Linked DNA regions of Homo sapiens: region 1 is linked to region 2. Evidence: promoter capture Hi-C in 16 types of primary human blood cells and fetal thymus (Javierre and others, 2016). All regions are on one chromosome and are shown on one strand. Each heading gives the region's core, a stretch centred on a gene start or on the middle of the fragment in contact. The rest is flanking DNA. Distances are from core to core; before and after follow the strand shown.

Region 1 (4,193 bases), core at 1,694-4,193, 52 kb before region 2:
CTGCTCTGTGCCCAGCATTACCCTCCTCTTAGTTTGGCCCAGCGGGACTGGCCTGTGTGGTGGGCCCGGCCTTCCCTGCCTGTGCCCAGCCAGGCCCCGGGGACTCACTCACAGGTGGTGTTGCCCTGCATGCTGACCACACACTTGGCATCCTGGCTGGTCTCACGGGCGTTAAAGGGCCGAACCCTCACTGCCACTTTCACCGAGGCACCAGCCATAGCTCCAGACACTCCTGCCCTCCTCAGCTGGAGGACAGAGAAAGGAGTGGTGGGGTCAGAACCACTGCAGGGACCCAGACATTGCCTCCCAGCTTCTTCCCGGAACCAGTCTCTTCACATCTCCCCCAGAGCCACCCAGCCTCTCAAGGACCCAGCTCTTATTCCCTTGGCTTTCCTCCCAAATGTCACTGTCTTGAGAGACTCCCAAAGGTATTTCTGCCTCTCTCCCCAGCCATATTCCAGCTTGCAGGAACCTGGGCGGTCTCCCCCAGTTACCTGGCGTCCTGGCCCCAGACCAGGGGGGCTGTATCAGTTCTGGCTGCCACCGGCCCTCGTAGGGGGAGCCCCATCCTACTCCTGGGGCCTGGCCACACCAGCTGGGGCTCTGGGAGATACCCTGATTGCGGGGGAAGAGTTGTTAGAAGGCACCTGTGGTTCCAGAGACCCGTCTGGGGTTCCCAGGTTGGAGGGCCAAGGTTACGGGGGGAATAGCAGGAAAAGTACGGACAGCTGCCCCTCTAGAGTGGCTGAATGCAATGTGAATCCAAGGGCAGGGACGGTGATATTTTTATTCCTTGTCACTCGCAAATGTACTGAACGTTCAGATAGAGGACAGAGAGAGAAAGAGGCTGGACAGAGGGCAATTCAGAGAGAGGGGCACATGGGCAGAGACGTGAGGGGGGTGGGAAGAGAGAGAGGAGGGGCAGAGAGTCACAGACACCAAGAAAATTAGAGAAATAAGACAAAAGGCAAGCCTGAGGTCATGCTATGAAGGAAAGAATGGGAGAGGAAAGGAGGAAGAGACACAGCACAGCAAACACACGGTGTTAAAGAGACAGGGTGGGGAACTCCGGCGCCAAAGCACAAACTGGGAGCCCAGAAGAGAGACCAGAGAGGAAACTGCAAATGCAAAACCTGTCCTCAAATTCCCCCACAGTGTCGGCAAGGGAGAATCTAGTTTCCACCTGAGGCCCACAACCTCCATGCACCAGGCCAGTAGTGCAGATGGGCAAAGTCCAAGGACTGTAGGTAGGGCCCAGGACTGGGATCCACAGGGCCAGCTGTGTGGGCTCTAAGCCCCTTGCCCAGCCCCCAGCACTTCCTCCTCAGGATCCGGGACAATGAGCAGGGGAGGGTGGGGTCATCCTGTAGCCATCAGACCAACCCTCAGGGCTCCACCCTTGGGGCGCCCAGAAATACCTGTGTTTGAGGGTAGAGGGTCCCTGGGGCCTCCCTAAAAGGGAGAAAGAAAAGGAAGCCGGCTGGCTGGTGCCAGCCCCAACCTGGGGCTAGTGCTATGGCGTCCACTGCCCTGGGGAAGGTGCCAGGCTGGAGCCCAGGAATGTGGGTGATCGGGTGCCCACACCCTGGGAGGAGAGGCTGAGCAGCCCACGCCCACGGACAACAGGGAGGAGGACCACGAAGGATAAGGGATGCGGAGCCCCCTCCTGTGGCCCCAGTGGACCCCAAACTCCTGTCACGCTGGGCCTCCCCTCACCAGTCTTCCTGGGCAGAGCATGGGAGGGTGAGGGGCTGGTCTGTCCCAGGACAGGAAGGGAGTAGCTGGAATCACAGAAGCTGGCTCAGGAAGAACAGCCCTGACCCCCTAGACCCTGACCAGGGGAGGGAAGGACACTGGTGGGGACAAGCGATGGTGACGCCGTTGCTGCAGCTAATGGGACAGGGATGGGGTGGCACGGCTGGGGGCCAGCGGGGTAAGGGAATAGAGGTAGGGACAGGGGTCGGCCGGTGCAGCTGTGAAGGAGCCGTGGGGTACAAGGAGGATACTGGGCGGCTGGGGTGGGGCCGACCGGCCCGAAAGGGGGTCTTGGGCCACCTGCACCTTGCCCACCCGGCGGTTCTCACACAGGTCCCCGCCCGGCCTCTCAGGGCGGCCATGCGGACCCGTCCTCCTGTCCAGCCAGCCGGCGGCCGCCCGGGCCTGGCACCTCTCTGCGCCTCCGCGGAACAAACAGCACATGATCCCGACTCTTGAGCCTAGATCGCGCCGCCGGACCCCGGCTCCCCGCCCCCCAACCCGGCACATTCCTCCGCGGGCGTCCCTTCCCTCCCCCTTCCCCAGCCCTCACCTCGGCGCGGCGGGGCTCCCGGAGCAGCTCGGCGGAGAGGGACAAGCTTTCCGGGAAGCGTGAGGCGGAAGCGGGAAGGATCTGGGGCCGGTTCGGAGCTGCCCCCGCCCCTCGCCGGGTGCCCGGGCGGCGGGCGGCGGACTCGCGCCCCGGGGGCGGCAGCAGTAGCGGCGCCAGCGGCCGGCGCCCGCCCGGGCAGCGCGAGCTGGGGCGGGAGCGAGGGGCGGGGGACGCGCGAGCGCGCGCGGAGGGGCGGGTACGCGCGGTCCCGGGAAGGAGCCGGGAGCGACCCGGGCTACTCTTGTTAAAGGGGCAACGCTCCTGGCCTGTGGGGCCCAGCGAGCGGGAACGTGGGGACCGAGCTGCGGACGCAGAAGGGCGAGCAGACGCCGCAACCCAGGAGGGTTGCAGACGCCTGAAGAACAGGGAAACGTCGGGGGCTGACCCGCGGGGGCACCCAGGCCCCGGCCCAGTTCCCGTCGCCGCCGTTGGAGGCGCGTCCAGGGGGCGGAGCCTCCTGCCGAGGCCCGCCCAGAAGGTGGCTCCGCTCAGGCCCCGCCCTCAGACGAGCACCGCCCGCCGGCTCCTCCCGCGGCTCGAATCGCCGTCTCTCTCCTCCCCGCCCCGCCGAGTTCTAGAATTCGCCGCGCAGCTGCTTCAGGTGCTGGGGCCAAATGCGGCCGGCCGTGGCGCGGCTACTCGGGCGCTCTGTCCCCGCCTGGCCCTCAAGTTCGGCCGCCCTGGACGCCGCCTGAGGCCCAAACAACCCCTTCAGGCCCGGGTGCCGCCTAAGGCCGGAGCTGCCCTCTCAGACCCGGGGCGTCCCTCAGGCCCCAGCCTGCCCTTCAGCCTGGGCCCACCACCTCAGGGCCCCTCTCGAGGGAAGCAGCCCCCAGTCGTGCCCTCGGGCGGGGCTGCCCGGAAGGTCCGGCCACGCCCGGTCCACCTGTCGAGGGTCCCCGTCGCCCTTTCAGGCGCAGGCCGCGCCCTCCGGCCCGGCGCTTCCCTCCAGCGGGGCTCCAGGCAGCCCCTCAGCCCCAGCCGGACCCTCGGGTCCTCATCCACCCTCGCAGGCGCAGGCCGTGGCTACCCCGAAGTCAACTGTGGAGGATCCTTCCTGGCTTCCTTCAGCTCCATCCTGCCCTTGGATCTAGGTCACCCGCTTGGACCCAACTATCTGAGGCCCGAATGCCCCGCAGCTCCCGCTGCTCCCTCGCGTTCTGCTGACCCCCCTCCGAGTCAGGACATCCCCTTTAGACCCCACTTTAGGCCCTTTCAGCCCAACTCCAACTAGCCCCATCTGCCGCTTCCGCACGGTATACTTCTCTCCGCTTTTGACCTCACCTGCTTTCCCAGCCCATCCCTAGTTCCCTTGGATAAATACTAGTTCACCTCTACAGTTCCAGCTGGCTGCTTCTGTCCTTCGGGAGCCTATGTGCACTCTCTCCTAACTTATCTAGTATTCTTTTTTTTTTTTTTTTTTTTTTTTTGAGACGGAGTCTTGCTCTGTTGCCCAGGCTGACCTCGGCTCACGGCAACCTCCGCCTCCTGGGTTCAAGCGATTCTCCTGCCTCAGCCTCCCGAATAGCTGGGATTACAGATGCCTGCCACCACACCCGGCTAATTTTTGTATTTTTAGTAGAGACTGGGTTTCGCTGTGTTGGCCAGGCTGGTCTCGAACTCCTGACCTCAAGTGATCCGCCCACCTCAGCCTCCCAAAGTGCTGGGATTACAGTCTTGAGCCACCGCGCCTGGCTTTTTTTTTTTTCTTCTTAGAAACAGGGTCTCACTCTGACGCCTAGGCTGGAGTGCAGTGCAGTGGTGCGATCTTACCTCACTGCAGCCTTGACCTCCCGGGCTCAGATGACACTCCCACCTCAGCCTT
Region 2 (4,598 bases), core at 2,099-4,598:
CGCAGGCGCGGGCACACGCGCCGCCGCCCGCCGGTCCTTCCCTTCGGCGGAGGTGGGGGAAGGAGGAGTCATCCCGTTTAACCCTGGGCTCCCCGAACTCTCCTTAATTTGCTAAATTTGCAGCTTGCTAATTCCTCCTGCTTTCTCCTTCCTTCCTTCTTCTGGCTCACTCCCTGCCCCGATACCAAAGTCTGGTTTATATTCAGTGCAAATTGGAGCAAACCCTACCCTTCACCTCTCTCCCGCCACCCCCCATCCTTCTGCATTGCTTTCCATCGAACTCTGCAAATTTTGCAATAGGGGGAGGGATTTTTAAAATTGCATTTGCAAAGTTCGGTGTCTGGGCTGGCGAGTGGGGGAGGGAGGGAATGGGGAGTAGGCCCCGCCCCTACCGTCCTTTGCAAATAAAAATCTAGCGGGGCGGGGGGGGGGAGGAGCAGGAAGTGGCGGTGCGAGGGCTGCTGCACAGCGAGCGGAGCCGCGGTCCGGACGGCAGCGCGTGCCCCGAGCTCTCCGCCTCCCCCCGCCCGCCAGCCGAGGCAGCTCGAGCCCAGTCCGCGGCCCCAGCAGCAGCGCCGAGAGCAGCCCCAGTAGCAGCGCCATGGCCGGGTGGAACGCCTACATCGACAACCTCATGGCGGACGGGACCTGTCAGGACGCGGCCATCGTGGGCTACAAGGACTCGCCCTCCGTCTGGGCCGCCGTCCCCGGGAAAACGTTCGTCAACATCACGGTACTGCGAGGCCTGCGCGGTCCGGGGCACTGCTCCGGTTTGGACCCTGAGGGAGGGACTTGGGTGGGGGCGGGCGCGGTCTAGGGCGCGCAGCGAGAGGCCCTGACTGGGTGCTTGCCCTGGAAGCGGCGCGAATGGCGGCTGCACGTGAGTGGGTCCCTCAGTTGCCCGTAGGTCCTATGCCCCAGGCGGCGGCGCCCATCCCGCCCGCTACCCCGCTTTCCGCGACGGGGCGTTACATCCGGGGCACAGGGCGGGGAGGGGCGCGGCGCCCGGTGCGGCGGCCCACTTCCGCCTCTCCCAGGGCGGGGCGGGGACGCGCCTCAGTTTTTACTGGGGATTGGGATTGAGAGGGGACCCGGGGATCCTTGGACCCCCAGCTCCCCGTCCGGCTGCCAGCCCGCGTCCCTCTACCATTGTTTCTCCTGGTGCGGAAGGGAGCCCCAGGCGCGTGGTCTTGGTCCCTTGCCCACCCTCTGTGGGCTTCTGGCCCCTCCTAACTCCGTTAGAGAGGGCGAGGCCACCACACGCCCCCCCAGCTCAGCACGTTGGATTCAACATTCCTGCGAGGCCAATCCCGGAAGTCCCCTCGCCCTCCCTTCCCGCCATCCGGCGGGGCCTGGAGCAGGGGAACTTTGTGAGAAGTTCTGAGACAGCATAAGCGAAAGTATATTGGTTTACTACCGCTGCTCCCACCACCATCTCCCTGTCCACACTGCCCGGAAGTGGGGAGGGGGAGCGGAAGTTCAAAAGGGGGGGGAAGGGGGTTTCCGGGCGGGAGGGGACCGGATGTGGGGGCTTGGGGTGAAAGGGGGAGGGGGGAAAGGTTCCCGGGGTACCTAGACCCGAGAGCTGGCCTGCCGGGTCTGGCCCCTGTCCACCTTCAAAAGTTTTCCAACTTTCCCGGAAAGCCCCCAGGGGTCTGCTTCCTCATCTCAGAGCAGAGATACCTGGAGCTAAACTCTAGGTTACTTGGAGACCCAGGCGTCCGGGCCCTAACAGCTCCTGCAGAACCTTTGACCAAATAAGGGCAAAGTTGCTTCTCTTGCCTCGCCCGCCCCCCTCCCTTCCCCTCTCCGCTTCTGCTTTTCCTGAAGGAGAGTTCTGAGCATCCAAAGGCTCCTCACTTACCTCACTGACTCCCTTTATTTCCTGGGTTTACTTTCCCCATTAACACTGACATCTAAATCTCTAGAGGAGTATGTCATCCCTTCCTCCCTGGTTCCATATTCTAAGTTTCAGAATCATGATCTTTTTCTGCACTAACGTCCCACAGTCCTCAGAGTTTCTCACAGTTCATTGATGTGTACTGAGTATATAATTTATACTTAGCCCCCACGGCGGGGTGGTTCTCAGAAGTGGAAGACAGGTGGGTCTTTGGAGAACACGGTGGGAATCTTGGTGCACTGACTAACTTGATGGGCGCTTGGTTCCTCTTCCAGCCAGCTGAGGTGGGTGTCCTGGTTGGCAAAGACCGGTCAAGTTTTTACGTGAATGGGCTGACACTTGGGGGCCAGAAATGTTCGGTGATCCGGGACTCACTGCTGCAGGATGGGGAATTTAGCATGGATCTTCGTACCAAGAGCACCGGTGGGGCCCCCACCTTCAATGTCACTGTCACCAAGACTGACAAGAGTGAGTTCCTGAGTCTTACCCTTCCTTTAGCTCCAAGATCTCTAATGTACCGCCTTCTGGTAATCTTGAGGGTGCTTTTTTGTGTGATTCCCCAACATGAAGGGAGTCAGACCAGTATTGTGTTCCTTGTCTGCTGGATGCTGGAACACGGGATAGTCCCTCCATTCTGTCTCAGTTCCTCATCTTGTAATTCGAAGTTGCTGAACTGCATTACCTCTTAAATTACTTACTGCCTTGAGCTCGGATTAGAAACTGTTTTCTAGGAGTATAGGTAGATTGTTGGGGTCTTGAATCATCGAGTTCATCGTTTGAGTTCTTTTGTTAGAACCTGGAGGTGGCATGCACATCCACAGCCCTTTCTAGCCTGAACACATGAATCAACAGTCTATGAGCCTTTGACCCCTAAGTTTTTAGTCTGTTCCTCTCCAGCGTTTAAGCTTGATTTTCCTCTTTTGAAAAGCCTTATTGTTTCAGGGTGACTGACAGCCTGCCTGTGTGTGGTGGGGGGGCGGGTTGGGAGAGATGAGGTTGGGTTACAGCCCCCAGGGCTGGACAGCTGCTGAACAGCTGGCAGGGGGTGGAATTGTGACACCTGGATCCTAGCCTCCTTTCTCTTTCCTCCTCCTCCAGCGCTAGTCCTGCTGATGGGCAAAGAAGGTGTCCACGGTGGTTTGATCAACAAGAAATGTTATGAAATGGCCTCCCACCTTCGGCGTTCCCAGTACTGACCTCGTCTGTCCCTTCCCCTTCACCGCTCCCCACAGCTTTGCACCCCTTTCCTCCCCATACACACACAAACCATTTTATTTTTTGGGCCATTACCCCATACCCCTTATTGCTGCCAAAACCACATGGGCTGGGGGCCAGGGCTGGATGGACAGACACCTCCCCCTACCCATATCCCTCCCGTGTGTGGTTGGAAAACTTTTGTTTTTTGGGGTTTTTTTTTTCTGAATAAAAAAGATTCTACTAACAAGGTGCTGTGTGATTTGAGCTTGGGTGTCAGAATGGGGGATAGGCACTGTGACTTGCCTCCTTTATCGTGGCTTGGGAGCAGGGAGGTTGAGGTACTACAAGGTGCAGGAATTTGAGCTTCTGGCCAGGTGGCCCTGCCCCTCCACAGTGGCATTTCCAGGCCTAAGTCCTCAGTGTGCTGGTCAAATTGGTGGATGATGGAATAGAGCCATCTGGACCAGAGAATGGGTGCAGGCCTGCAGGCAAGGCAGGGCTAGTTGAGTCATCCTTGTGGGTGGGGCTCCCCCTTCTGAGTCATAGCAAATGCCGGCTGGGGCTGTCCCCATGACTATAGGTTAGTGTCTCTCAGCATTCCCTTGCTCCTTATGGCTAAAGGGGTGATTCCACCAAAGGGTTAAGTTCACCTGTGTGAGAATGATCTTACCCTTCCTTAGTCCACAAAGAAACAATTTTATTAGCCCAAGAAGTGAAGACCCAGTCCCTCTGCTTGCCCCAGCTCCACCCCAAAGCCCCTCAAAAGGATAGGTGTGGGTAAGGGAGAAGCTTGGGATGGAATGTCCCCTATCCCTCAGAAGACTGGAGGGAAGACGACGGTCTGTGCAAATAGGTCACCAGAGGTGTATGTGTGGGGGGTTATTAGACCAGGATAACAGGGGAAGAGGGAGGGGACAGTGGGGGATCTGTTGAAGGCCCAGGAAAAACAAGGGGAGCTGGGGCTAAGGAACCAAAGGAGGTGGGAAGAGTGGGGCTAGAACCCAAAAGTGGGGTCCTTTCTGAGGCAGGGTGGTCCCTTGGCTCCCCTTCATCACCCTCCTCTTGCCCTTGAGTTTCTTCCTCTTGGTCTTCGTCCCCAGGACCCCGATGAACAGGCTGCTTGCAAATGGGGCAGGTCTTCCGGGTCTGAGTGAGCCAGGGGTCCACGCAGCGGCTGTGGTAGGCTGCAGAGAGGAACAAGGTGAAGCACCTGGTGGCTGCTGGTGGCAGAGGGGCATGGGCAGGCAGTGAGGGCCTCACCATGAGCACAGGGGAGTACCCGCAGCTTGTCCCCATCCTCATATTCATCCAGGCAAATGGCACAGACATCATACTGGTCTCCTGGGACAGAAAGAAAATAATCTAGTCCTTCACTGAGCCACAATGACCCAGGGCTAAGGCTTTTAAAGCCTTGCAAAAATTTCCCCTCACCTACAAAGCCAGTGGAAGAGATAAGACAGGTAGGCAGGATAAGGTCAGGGCAGAACATGGAAGAATTTAG

Evidence for each region. Contacts are between HindIII fragments. The CHiCAGO score rates a contact against its expected background, and 5 or more counts as called.
Region 1: the fragment with the promoter of INCA1 here is called in contact with a fragment that was not itself captured in region 2 in 3 of 17 cell types (M1 macrophages, M0 macrophages and neutrophils); the score reaches 6.4 in M1 macrophages.

Annotation. Positions count from the first base shown.
Region 1 is chr17:4,996,272-5,000,464 of GRCh38, reverse strand. INCA1 (inhibitor of CDK, cyclin A1 interacting protein 1) reads left to right here and starts at 2,943. Exons shown (of 7, transcript NM_001394789.1): 1 at 2,943-2,969. KIF1C (kinesin family member 1C) reads right to left here and starts at 2,515. Exons shown (of 23, transcript NM_006612.6): 1 at 2,309-2,515; 2 at 495-615; 3 at 113-245. The coding sequence starts at 218. RefSeq lists enhancers at 1-198, 199-810 and silencers at 2,053-2,152, 2,203-3,072, 3,113-3,202. The HindIII fragment of the contact is 6,815 bases long and covers 2,357-4,193 here.
Region 2 is chr17:4,944,398-4,948,995 of GRCh38, reverse strand. It overlaps RNF167 (ring finger protein 167), which reads right to left. Exons shown (of 10, transcript NM_015528.3): 9 at 4,358-4,438; 10 at 3,774-4,281. The coding sequence ends at 3,980. It overlaps PFN1 (profilin 1), which reads left to right and starts at 466. Exons shown (of 3, transcript NM_005022.4): 1 at 466-733; 2 at 2,176-2,368; 3 at 2,999-3,344. The coding sequence starts at 602. The coding sequence ends at 3,096. It also overlaps a transcript of ENO3 not described here. RefSeq lists silencers at 1-126, 257-596, 867-936, 967-1,196 and enhancers at 2,557-2,636, 3,307-3,476, 3,537-3,626, 3,637-3,686, 4,557-4,598 and 1 more. The HindIII fragment of the contact is 1,081 bases long and covers 2,808-3,888 here.